2 separate regions of the Homo sapiens genome follow, and region 1 is linked to region 2. Evidence: promoter capture Hi-C in 16 types of primary human blood cells and fetal thymus (Javierre and others, 2016). All regions are on one chromosome and are shown on one strand. The core of a region is centred on a gene start or on the middle of the fragment in contact, and the rest is flanking DNA. Distances in the headings are between cores, read along the strand shown. Region 1 overlaps DHX35 (DEAH-box helicase 35). Region 2 holds the start of TOP1 (DNA topoisomerase I).

The links. Contacts are between HindIII fragments. The CHiCAGO score rates a contact against its expected background, and 5 or more counts as called.
Region 1: a fragment that was not itself captured here is called in contact with the fragment with the promoter of TOP1 in region 2 in 1 of 17 cell types (endothelial precursors); the score reaches 5.8 in endothelial precursors.

Annotation. Positions count from the first base shown.
Region 1 is chr20:39,022,410-39,027,667 of GRCh38, reverse strand. DHX35 (DEAH-box helicase 35) reads right to left here. Exons shown (of 22, transcript NM_021931.4): 17 at 3,901-3,978; 18 at 2,309-2,438. Among named protein-coding and RNA genes, the nearest start is that of DHX35, 63 kb to the right of the region's middle. The HindIII fragment of the contact is 743 bases long and covers 2,351-3,093 here.
Region 2 is chr20:41,025,527-41,031,275 of GRCh38, reverse strand. It overlaps TOP1 (DNA topoisomerase I), which reads right to left and starts at 2,454. Exons shown (of 21, transcript NM_003286.4): 1 at 2,176-2,454; 2 at 1,821-1,845. The coding sequence starts at 2,208. RefSeq lists silencers at 2,114-2,183, 2,404-2,755. The HindIII fragment of the contact is 6,355 bases long and covers 1-3,403 here.

The DNA of each region.
Region 1 (5,258 bases), core at 1,473-3,972, 2.0 Mb after region 2:
ATGGTATCTTAGATCCAATGGAATAAAGCATGTTGGTAAGTAAGTTCCATAAAGGTGGTACTATTTCCAAAGCCATCAACAATATATAAAAATGGCAGTTTCACTGCATTCTTACTAGCAATGTTTTGGCAAAAAGTGTTACCTTCTGTTACCTTCTTTTATATTACATTTATTTGATTACTATCGGCATATTTCTTCTTTTGTGAATTTTTTGTTCTAATCCTTAGCCCATTTATCAACCTGAAAACTGTTTTTTCCTAAATATATTAAATAAAATCATTCTATAATAAAGTTTTTAATCTTTATCATTTATCTCATGACTGCTGAAAGTATCTTTCACTAATTGCTTTCTATTTTTTAACCCTTAGATGTTTTAAATTTGCATGTAATTTATTTAGTCTCCATGATTTTCTGTATTTTTCCTAAGCACTGAGCTGATAAAATCTCAAATCTACATGTCTAAATATGATCTAATCCGATATCCAGTCTCTTCTCTCCTATTGTCCATAAGAAATTTCCATGTAAAATATGCACTCTAAACAGGGGTGATATCACTTCCAAAGGGGTGGAAACTGGTTCTTGGAGGCAGGGGGAGGGGAGCATCTTAGACACTACAATGGCCGGTAGCCCTCCAAAGCTCAATCCTACCCTACAAAATCTTATTCCTTAGTATTTAATTTCTCAGGCTGGGTAGAATTTAAATTTAACTTTTCTCCTGGGCAGGGGTCTGATAATGAAACACAGGTGAAGAACACCAATTGCTGAAGTAAGGCTGTCATCTACCTGCTGGGTGACAGGCGTTTGACGAGCTGCTCTCCAACTAGGTGCTCCTTGTAAGCATCCTGTTTCTATCAATGACTCCAACATGGCTCAATGGCCCAGGTTTCAACTCTTCCCTCTCTCGTGAGTGTATTCACCCATCAAATATTCTCTGAGCGTCTCATATACTCCTCACTCCAAGCACTTGTCTCCAGTCCTCCTTCCCTAGAGTGCTCTTTGCCACCATTTTCTAATTCAACCAGACCCCAAAGCTTGACCGGACTCCCACCACACCTCAAGGAAGCTGAAAGACTTCCCAAGCTAGCCCTCTCTGGATTCCTTCTTCCCGGCATTCCTTCCACATCTGCCAGCACGTCTTCTATGATTACTAAAGTATCTACTACTTTAACTTCGAAGAGGACTGATAATCTTAGTACTTTGTCTATCCATATGAATCTCTCCCTTCATTACACTGTTCCCTTAGAGTAAAAGCCAAGACTCCGTCATTGTTTAATCACTTGCTCTTAGTATAAAGACAAAAGAAGACTTAAATGGAACCGCCTGGGCTCAGGTTCTGACTCCATCATACCCTCACTGTGTAACTTCAGCAAGTTACATTTTACCTCTTAGCCACGCTTTTCTCACCTATAAGATGGGGAAAAGAGCACACGTTTCACAGCGTTGTTGTGAGCATTAAATTAATAAACACATGGAACACTCAGTGCACTGTCTAGCCACTTATAAGCACTCAGGAAATGTTACCAAGTACTAATGGTGCTGAGGATGTGGCTGAGTACCTGGCACACTAGGCTTTCAGGCTGACTGCTGAGGCGGGTGTGTCACTTCCTTAAAAGCGTAGACTTCTGAGCCACATACAGATCTGGCTCTCCTCCTTACCAGTTGCGTGGTCCTGAATTTAATCTACCTTCTCCCTAGGATCTTACGACTAATTGTAAAATGAGGATAACATTACCGACACCTCACAGAGTGCGAGATTGAGCAAGAGAATATTTGGAGAACCCCTGCCACAGCGTAACCTACTGTGTCCCTGATTAATAGTAGTCACTGTCACTGCTAGAGGCCAGAGACTACGTCTTACATAGTACTTTTCTGTCTTACCTTTAGTGGCTGCCTAGGCTAAATATCCAGCACTTGCTTTAATAATACTTGTCTTTGAATATAAAATTTAATTTTTATGTAATAGCTACTAATATCACTGATCAAAAAGTAATTTTTCTTGCAAAGCCTACATGGGAAAATCAATGACATGATGTGCACTGATGTGACTGTTAGTGATTCTTAAGTATTGTCATGGGCTATGAAATTCCTTTAGTAAGAATGCCCATCAGAAAGAAAAATAGACCTCCTTGGAAAAAATACGCAACTTGACCTTCAGCTTTTCACAGATGCAGGCAACTCAAAATATAAAACCCAGTGTTGGTACAGAGCACGCCACACTGCCTCGCACCAGCCCAGCATGAGAACTTTAGGAAGACAACTCAACAGAATGAAGCAAGGGAGGTCACCAGCTGGGACGGTTTCTTCTCACCTTCACTAGACTTCCTGGGCACTTGAAACTTGACAAGAAGCTTTTTCAATTGTTCTCTTACAGTCGCAGCTCTGACAAGACCCTTGTAATTCAGGAAATGTTCCTGACACCATTTAGAGTCCTTATTGTGCTACAGAACAACCCAGAGAGAGGGAGTTAGAAAACAGATATGTTCTCGACTAAGGCTATGTTGTAAAGATCATTCTTCTCTCTTCCCCCATGTGCTGTTCAACGGCATAAGATCTAAAGATGGGAACTGGCCCTTTTTTGCCCCATCTCTCAAAACAGATGTTAACAACCTTGCACACATCTGACTGCTCTGCAACCTCACTCTTTACACTAAAGGGCAAATGAGAACTTAATGACACGCAGAAACGGTTTCAATCTTACATACCTTCATGAGATGTGAACTATCAGAAAGAACCATTTCTCCACGTGGTTCTTTGTAAATCAACTTTTCTTCTTTGGCATGCTTGAATGTATCACTTTATTATACTAGAAGCCAACAATATGACACTTGCCAATGTAGAAATAATTTACAAATTACTATTATTTGTCCCCAAAGCATGATTTTTCTATCAACAGTATTTAATTTTTTCTGCATTCATAAGTATGATCATTATGTCTTAGAGTAAATTATTGCTGTGGAAATGTACCTCTGAAATTCTATTGTAAGTTAAAGTGCTTTAAAAAAGAAAATGTAATTAATAGAAGATATTCCAAGAAGGCAACCATAGAATAATACAATGTAGACCTATACCCACTTTCTAGTGGTAGAGAAAGCTTCAGACTGCAGATGATACATTGTGCCTGTACAAATGAATTTTAACTGATTTAAGCCGTAAGTCTCAAAAAGAGTGAATTTCTTTTTTCTGAAAACTTTTCACCAACTGAATAATCTTCCTCAAATCACTGGTAAACAAAAATTTAGTATTTCTTCACTTCTAAAAGAGTATTTAAGAAATGAGTATTAAAAATCTGAAGTATTATACCCTTTCTTTTATGTAAGGTTACTTTTTTCATCATTTTCATCACCTTTATTAACAATTTTTCATGAGAACTTTAAGCTGTATTATTTGCTTAGTTTTAAAGAATATTAACAATAAAAAATTAACATCACTTATAGCTAAATATGGGTGGGATATGTGAATATGCACAGATCTCAACTAAATGTCTTCTCATGGCAGCTGGGACAGCTTTGAAGATTCAACCCAGGACTACAAGTTGCTCTCAGCCTCATTCACCTGGCAGAAAATGTAACAGAACTTCCTATTCAAATGTTGCCTTTCTGTCTACTGCACAGTGGATGTGAGATGACGTGAGGCTGGGCCACTGGCCTGCCACTAGTGTACCATATCTCCAAGCAAGGGAAAGCAATGAATGATTCCTGTGTTCTTCTCAGCAATACCTCACCACAAACTCAGGCAGAAAGCCCGACCCACCAGTTAGAAGTACTGGCAATAAATCTAACAGGAAAATCAAGGGCTCTCTTGGACATTCCTTTACGAACTGAACTTCTGGGATCCTCCCTCCTAGATCACCTCCAGAGGGTGGTGTGTTGAGGCGGCACTTCGAGCAGTAGTTGTGCTTACTTTGATAAATGCTTCATATATATTGAGCATAGTGAGGTGGTCGCCCTCCTCCACAGCAAATTTACGGTGCACTCGAATCTGGAAAGAATGAAGCAACATTCAGAATTTCACTCTTTGCTGGGTGTGGTGGCTCACACCTATAATCCCAGCATTTGGTGAGGCTAAGGTGGGAGGATTGCCTGAACCCAGAAGTTCGAGACCAGCCTGGGCAACATAGGTAAACCCCATGTCTACAAAAGCTAAAAAAAAAAATCAGCAGGGCATGGTGGTGTATGCCTCTAAGCCCCAGCTACTAGGCTGAGGTGGAAGGATCGCTTGAGCCCAGGAGCCATGTTTGCACCACTGCGCTCCAACCAAGGCAACAGGGCGAGACCCTGTCTCAAAAAAGAAAAAAAGAAAGAAAGAAAGAAATTGACTTTTGCACTGGAAGTAATATTGCATGGTGAATAGCGTGTGGGTTATGGATTCAGAAAGACCTAGTTTGCAGCATTCTAGCTCTGCCATATCTTGAAAGAACTCAGCTTGGTTACTTAACCTCTCTCAGCCTTGATTTCCTTATCTGTAAAATCAGGAAACTAAACCTATCAAGATTGCTGTGGATTAAGATAATTTATTACAAGGTATCTGGCAAAGAAATTTGATAAAATGTTAGTGTTCTTGTCTCTCTCCTCCTCCAGGTTAATTAAAAACAAAACTAAACAAAAACAGACATAAGCATCTGGGCACAGAGGCAGAAAAACTTTGTAATCTATAGTTATACAACTGACAAGGAGGATCCCAACAATCCCTAAGAAAGTCTCTCTCCTCCTCATTACACATACAAATTCAGCCCCTCCATGCATAAGGCTGCTAATTCTCTGACTTTCAAACAGGAACTGACTTTGAACTCATCTCTGACCTACCTCTATCAACACACCTTACTTCTGAGTATCTATCTCTTCAGTATCAAAACTTGTCCTTCCGTCTTTCCAGTGTTCACTCAATTAGTCATTGCTGATGCCTGCACCTTAGGTGGGGATTGGATCTCTCTAGCTTATAATGGCCCACCTGCAACATGACCATGATGTCGTGTGGTGCCCAGAATCAGCCTGCTATACCCTGGCACCTGACTTCTTATGTCACTAATGTGCCCACCAAGGTTTCTAGCAGAGCAGTCTGAATGACAATTTCCCTGACAGAAACTAGAAGTTGGTAGTTCAATGGTTAAGGTGTGGGGCTCTGGACTGTGAATCCAGAGCCAACAATTCTGGCTGTGCAACTGTGAATGAGTTACCTAACCTCTCTATGCCTCCATCTTTAAAATATGATAATAGGCCGGGCACGGTGGCTCACGCTTGTAATACCAGCACTTTGGGAGG
Region 2 (5,749 bases), core at 1,205-3,704:
CACCTGCACATCCTTTCTTTGCTCCTGTATCCCAAAGAAACATGTCTATACTGTGGCTTTCTAAACTGCAGGCCTCACCTCCTCCCTCTTTTAAAATCGTGATAGGTTGGTTAAACGTACTTAAGAAACACTCCAACCCCTGACAATTCTCTGCGCCCAGTCTTCCACAACCCCCAGCTCAGAAGTCACCTCCTCTGAGAAATTTCCCCACCCTCAGACAAAATTAACTCCCCTATACTTCAAAGCATTTTGGGTACACATATGCCCCAGTAGTTACCTTATAATTAACTAATTATGTCTCCCCCAATAGACTGAATTGAGAGCAAGGGAGTGTTATGGTTACAGGATCAGCTCTAGCACCAAGCACAGTGGTTGGCACATATCTGGTGCTCAAGAAATGCCATACTTTAAACCAGATTCTCTCCTGGCTGAGTACCATCTCCTGCTGGATGCCCCACTTCAAACTCTGAACATAAGGTTGCTCTCAGTAGAGCAGGCTAACATGATGGACTGCTGATTACAACATTAGAAAACCTACTCATCAACTTCTCCCATTGGAGAGGTTCCCGGAACCCAAACTCAATTGAGCAGGATTATGTACCATCAAAATCAGTGGGAATTCCCAGCACACTACAGAAGGTAACTTCTCCTTCAACAGGGTTGTTCGAAAGCCTGCAAGGATGAGCTTTTTATTGGAGGACTCTTCCCTGGGTAACTGAAGTGGAAATACAGTAAGAATAAATGCCTTGATTTGGCTGAAAAGGGTTCAAAAACATAAAGAATTGGGAAAAAAAAAAAAAGCCAGTTCTTGATTCCTGAAAAACAGTGGCTCGTGAAAAAGAATGAACAGGAAGCAGGGGTGGGTACTGGACACTCTTTGCTTCAATAAATAAAATCTTTTTTTCCTCCTTACAACCCAAACGAAAAGGCCAACACACCAGGTCCACAAGAGATGCTCAACAATCTTTCCTTCCAACAAGTACACTAAACTGCGTTTCCAGAAAAACACTGCATTGGGAACCTCGACCACAATGAAAAGTTCCAGTGACTAACATAATTTTTTAAAAATCCAACATTTACATTGGGTGACCCACAGAGAACTTGCAAACTTTCTTTAGGGAGGTACTGCTACCTTTGCAAAGAACGTAACTTGGGAAAAACAACCTGGAAATATAAAGAACTCCACAAAGCGTGGCTTTAGTTTTAGAGCCATAATTCCTATCATAAACAGCCTATCAAAAAAAAAATTAACAGTTGCTTAAGGAAATCTTTCATTCTGGAAGCAGAAAAGGAAACAAACATGAAGCATAAAGGGAATAACCCCCAAAATAAAGTTTAAAAAATAATAATTCAGTCCCCCAGCCTTCCCTCTCTGGTGAAGTATGTGATTTATACGGCTTTGCTCTGCAGAAAGCTCATTCTGGGCAGCTCAAGGAAAGAGCCGAGGGAGGGAGAGAAAGAGACACAGGCACAGAAAGGAGAGGAGAGAGAAAAAGAAAATGGCGCAGAGACTAAGTCCCGACCGTCGACAAGGCGACTTTCCCGGGAGGAATCCCGGCCCGGAAAGACCGCCCGAGGCCCGGTGGCGGACGACACGGGGTCTCCGTTGTCCCCTCTTGGGAGGGCCGGGATCTGGAGGAGCTGGGGTCCCCGGAAAGGGGGTCAAGAGGCGGCCCGATGGGAACAATGGGGCCGGTGAGCGAGGAGCCGGGACTTAGTCTCTGGGACGCCATGTCTGTCCTCTGCCCGGCACCGGCAGGGCGCGGGGGAGGCGGCCGGCGGCTGGGGGGCCCCGGAGTCGGCGCAGGGGGCACACTCACCATTCAATCGGAAATCCGCTTCGATCTGGAAAAAGAAAAGGAGAGAATATCAAACAACAGCCACTTTAACCCCTCCGGCGGCGAGCGCGCGCGGCCGGGGTCTGGCTCACCCTGCGCCCCCGGGGAGGACGGGGACCCGGGGGTGGCCACAGAGGGCAGCCATCCCTGCCTCGAACTGTAACTTCGCGGCCCTCGCTCGCGGCCTAGCGAGCCGATCTACTCCGGCAGGCGGCCCCTCACCGGGGGCTCCGGCCTGTCAAAGCTGCCGGGCCGGGGCTGGGGTCGGGGCCTGCGCCGGGGGTCGCGGGACGGCCAGGCCGGGGTCCGGGGCCGCCAGGGTCAGGCCGGGCCGTACCTGGGAATCGTTGTGGAGGTGGTCCCCACTCATGTCGGCCCGGAGGGACGAGCGCGGCGGCAGGCGAGGCGGCGTGGGGGAGACGCAGACGGCGAACCGGCCTGTGCGGGCGGACGGGGACTCCGGAGGCTCGAGGAGGCGCAGGTAAGCGGCGGTGACTGTGGGCCCGAGACTCCAGAAACGGCTGAGGCTGCTACCACGGCGGCGACGCTGCCTGACTGCCGGGCGGGCGGCGAGAACAGACCCCAGCAGTTGTGTAACAGCCTAAGTTCGCATTTGGGCTCACTGCGCCTGCGCGGCCGCTTTTAAACAACACGTCGGCGACGTCAGCGCTCGCGGAAAGAGGCAGAGGGTTGCGGCCCGCCCCCTCGCTGTTCGCCAGACGGACCTGTCTTTGCATCGCAAGCCCCGCCTCCGGACCGTGCGCGCTCCGCTGTGATTTGCATAAGGAGCCGACTCCTCCCACGGCGTCCCACCCCAAGCAGCCTCCCCTTCCTCTCCAGACGCTTTTTCTCGGAACCCCAGCCCCTCTGCTAGGCAGTGCGCAGGCGCCACCCGGGCACCGCCTCCGGACCAGGGCTGGCCGCGCAGCCACGTGGTGGGCCTTTAAAGGCCGCGGCGGGACCCAGCAATCTTGGGCAGAGCTGGTATCCGGCGTCCGCATCTCCTTGGAGCGGCGAGTACCTTGGCAGCTGGGACCCCAGAGGTCTCCCCAGCGCCTCCTTTCTTGCTAAGCCGACCCTGAGGCCGCCTGGTGGGAGGAGTCCCCTCCCCAGCCTTTGTCCAGGCCCTCCAACTTCTGGATTATTTCACGCCCACTTTTTAAAAATTATTTTAATTTTTCAACCAACCAAGGGTCCGGTTTAACCCCAGTTTTCCGCCGAGTACATGTAGCCCTGGGTCACCAAGGGTCTGATTTCTTTGGTTCATTCTACAAATACTTATTGAGCATCCGCTATGAGCCCAGGAATTGTGCTGAGGGAAGGGGGAATGCAAGAGACCAAAGGGAACTGAACCTGTCTCTATCCGCCCCTGTATCCCTGGCATGCTGGGAGGACGGGGCAAATGGGGAATAGAACTACCGTTTATAGAGCATCTATTCTGTGCCCAGCTCTGAATTCTCACAATAGCTCTGTGAGGTCGCCTGTATTACAAAAGTCAAACTGTCCTAAAGACAAGGGACCAACAGCCAGCTACCTTGCATCTATAGTTGGATACCTCTCAAGCTTCTCTGGGAATGAACTGAACTCCACTCAGCTAGAAAAAGCCCCATCCTGACACCTTCCTTTCCCTCATTTCCCACTAGTCCCGCTGATTGCATCTCTTTGCTTCATCTACTTCTCTCTGCTGCCCATAAGCCTTTGAAGTCTGCGTTCTCCTGCTTGGATTAATACAATGTGCTGGCTGGGGGTGGTGTCTCACACTTGTAATCTTAGCACTTTGGGAGGCCGAGGCTGGCAGATCACTTGAACCCAGGAGTTCAAGACCAGCCTGGGCAACATGGCAGAACCCTGACTCTACAAAAAAATACAAAAACTGGCGGGGTGTGGTGGCATGTGCCTGTAGTCCCGGCTACTCGGGAGGCTGAGGTGGGAGGATCACCTGAGCCCGAGGAGGAGGTCGAGGCTGCACTGCACTCCAGCCTGGGCAACAGAGTGAGACCTGGTTTAAAAAAAACAAAAAACAAACCAACAAAAAACACCGCACTCCAAAACACTACACTTCTAACAGGGATTGCTGCTTCCATTCTTGGCCCTCTCGTAAACTGCATTCCAACAATTGCCAAAGTGATCTTCTCAATATGCTAATCTAACCATTACTCCTTTGTGGATATTGCCACATCTATTACCACTTTCACTATTATTATTTCATATTTTAATTGATCTCCTTTTTATTTACCTTCATCCTAAGTGTTATCTGTGAAATAATATCTATGAAATCATTTGGAAGTAAATATGAAAACTGTTCATCCAGTGGACCATCAGTATCTTTATCACATCTAATGTTTACCATCACATGTTTACCATTAGATGTGTTTACCACATCTTGTGAATGCTTCAAGATCAACCTAAATATCACTTTTTCAAAGTGACTCTCCGGCGCACTACTGACCCTGCTTCCACTGGCTGACCAAGGGTGCCTTATAGGCCAGGCGCGGTGGCTAACGCCTGTAATCACAGCACTTTGGGAGGTCAATGTGGATCAATCACTTGAGGTCAGGAGTTCAACAACAGCCTGGCCAACATGGTGAAACCCTGTCTCTACTAAAAATACAAAAATTAGCAGAGTGTGGTGGTTCACACCTGTAATCCCAGCTACTCGGGAGGCTGAGGCAGGAGAATCGCTTGAACCTGGGAGGCAGAGGTTGCAGTGAGCCGAGACCGCACCACTGTACCCCAGCCTGGGCAACAGAGCGAGTGAGTCTCAAAAAATAAATAAACAAATAAAAATAAAAGGTGCCTTATAGTATCTATCTCCTTTGTAACACTTATGACACTTGTTATTAAGTTACAAATGTAGTAATTGGTTTCCTGTCTATTTCCCCTATAGCAAGCAAGGTCTGTGAGAGGGGGGAATCTTGTCCATCTTGCCTACCACTGAATTCCCAGCACCCAGCAACAGGCCCTCCTACAGAAGAGGTGCTCAAGAAATGGGCAAATCAAAGCAGGTTACCCTGCTTTGGTTAGGAGCACACATTTGGAAGTCAAATCAACTTAGGTTTGAATTCTGCTCTGCTGTTTGTTACCTGTGTGATATCAGGCAAGTTGTTTAACTTCTCTGAGTCCCTGTTTCCTCATCCACTCCATGGTGATCATTGTGGGTATGTAATGACTATCAAAAAATAATGGTTTGAGGGCAGGCACCTAGTAAGTGCTGAGTCTTGGATTCATACTCAGGTCGGCCTGACTCCAAAGCTATACTCTTTCTCTGAAGCAAGCTGCCAGAGCCAGTTTTGCCTTGCTGTTGGTGTCTCTTCTCATACTCTTCCCATCTCAGGATCAATCCCTGGCCAGAAGATGAGGCATCTGCTTGCTGCAGTGAGTCCAAGATAATTTGAGGACGGCCTTCAGGAATAACAATGCATCCACACTACTCCACTCTCCCAACCCCCCGTTTCCCAGGGAGAATCTGCATTTGCTTTTTTTTCTTTTTTTTTTTTTTTTTGAGATGGAGTCTCTGTCACCCAGGCTGGAGTGCAGTGGTGCCATCTGGGCTTACTGCAACCTCCGCCTCCTGGGTTCAAGCAATTATCCTGCCTCAGCCTCCCGGGTAGCTGGGATTACAGCCACGTACCACCACACCCAGCTAATTTTTGCAATTTTAGTAGAGACAAGGTTTCACTATGTTGGTCAGGCTGGTCTCAAACTCCTGACCTCGTGATCTGCCCACCTTTGCCTCCCAAAGTGCTGGGATTACAGGCATGAGCCACTGTACCCAGCCTGCATTTGCTTTCCAGGCCCCTCCAAAGAAGACTAGGTAGGCATGAAAACAGCACAGACTTCACAATGGCAGACCGAGGACATCCCCGTGCACAGACATGGAAATATCCGGGCAGTCTTGTCACAGGCTGAAC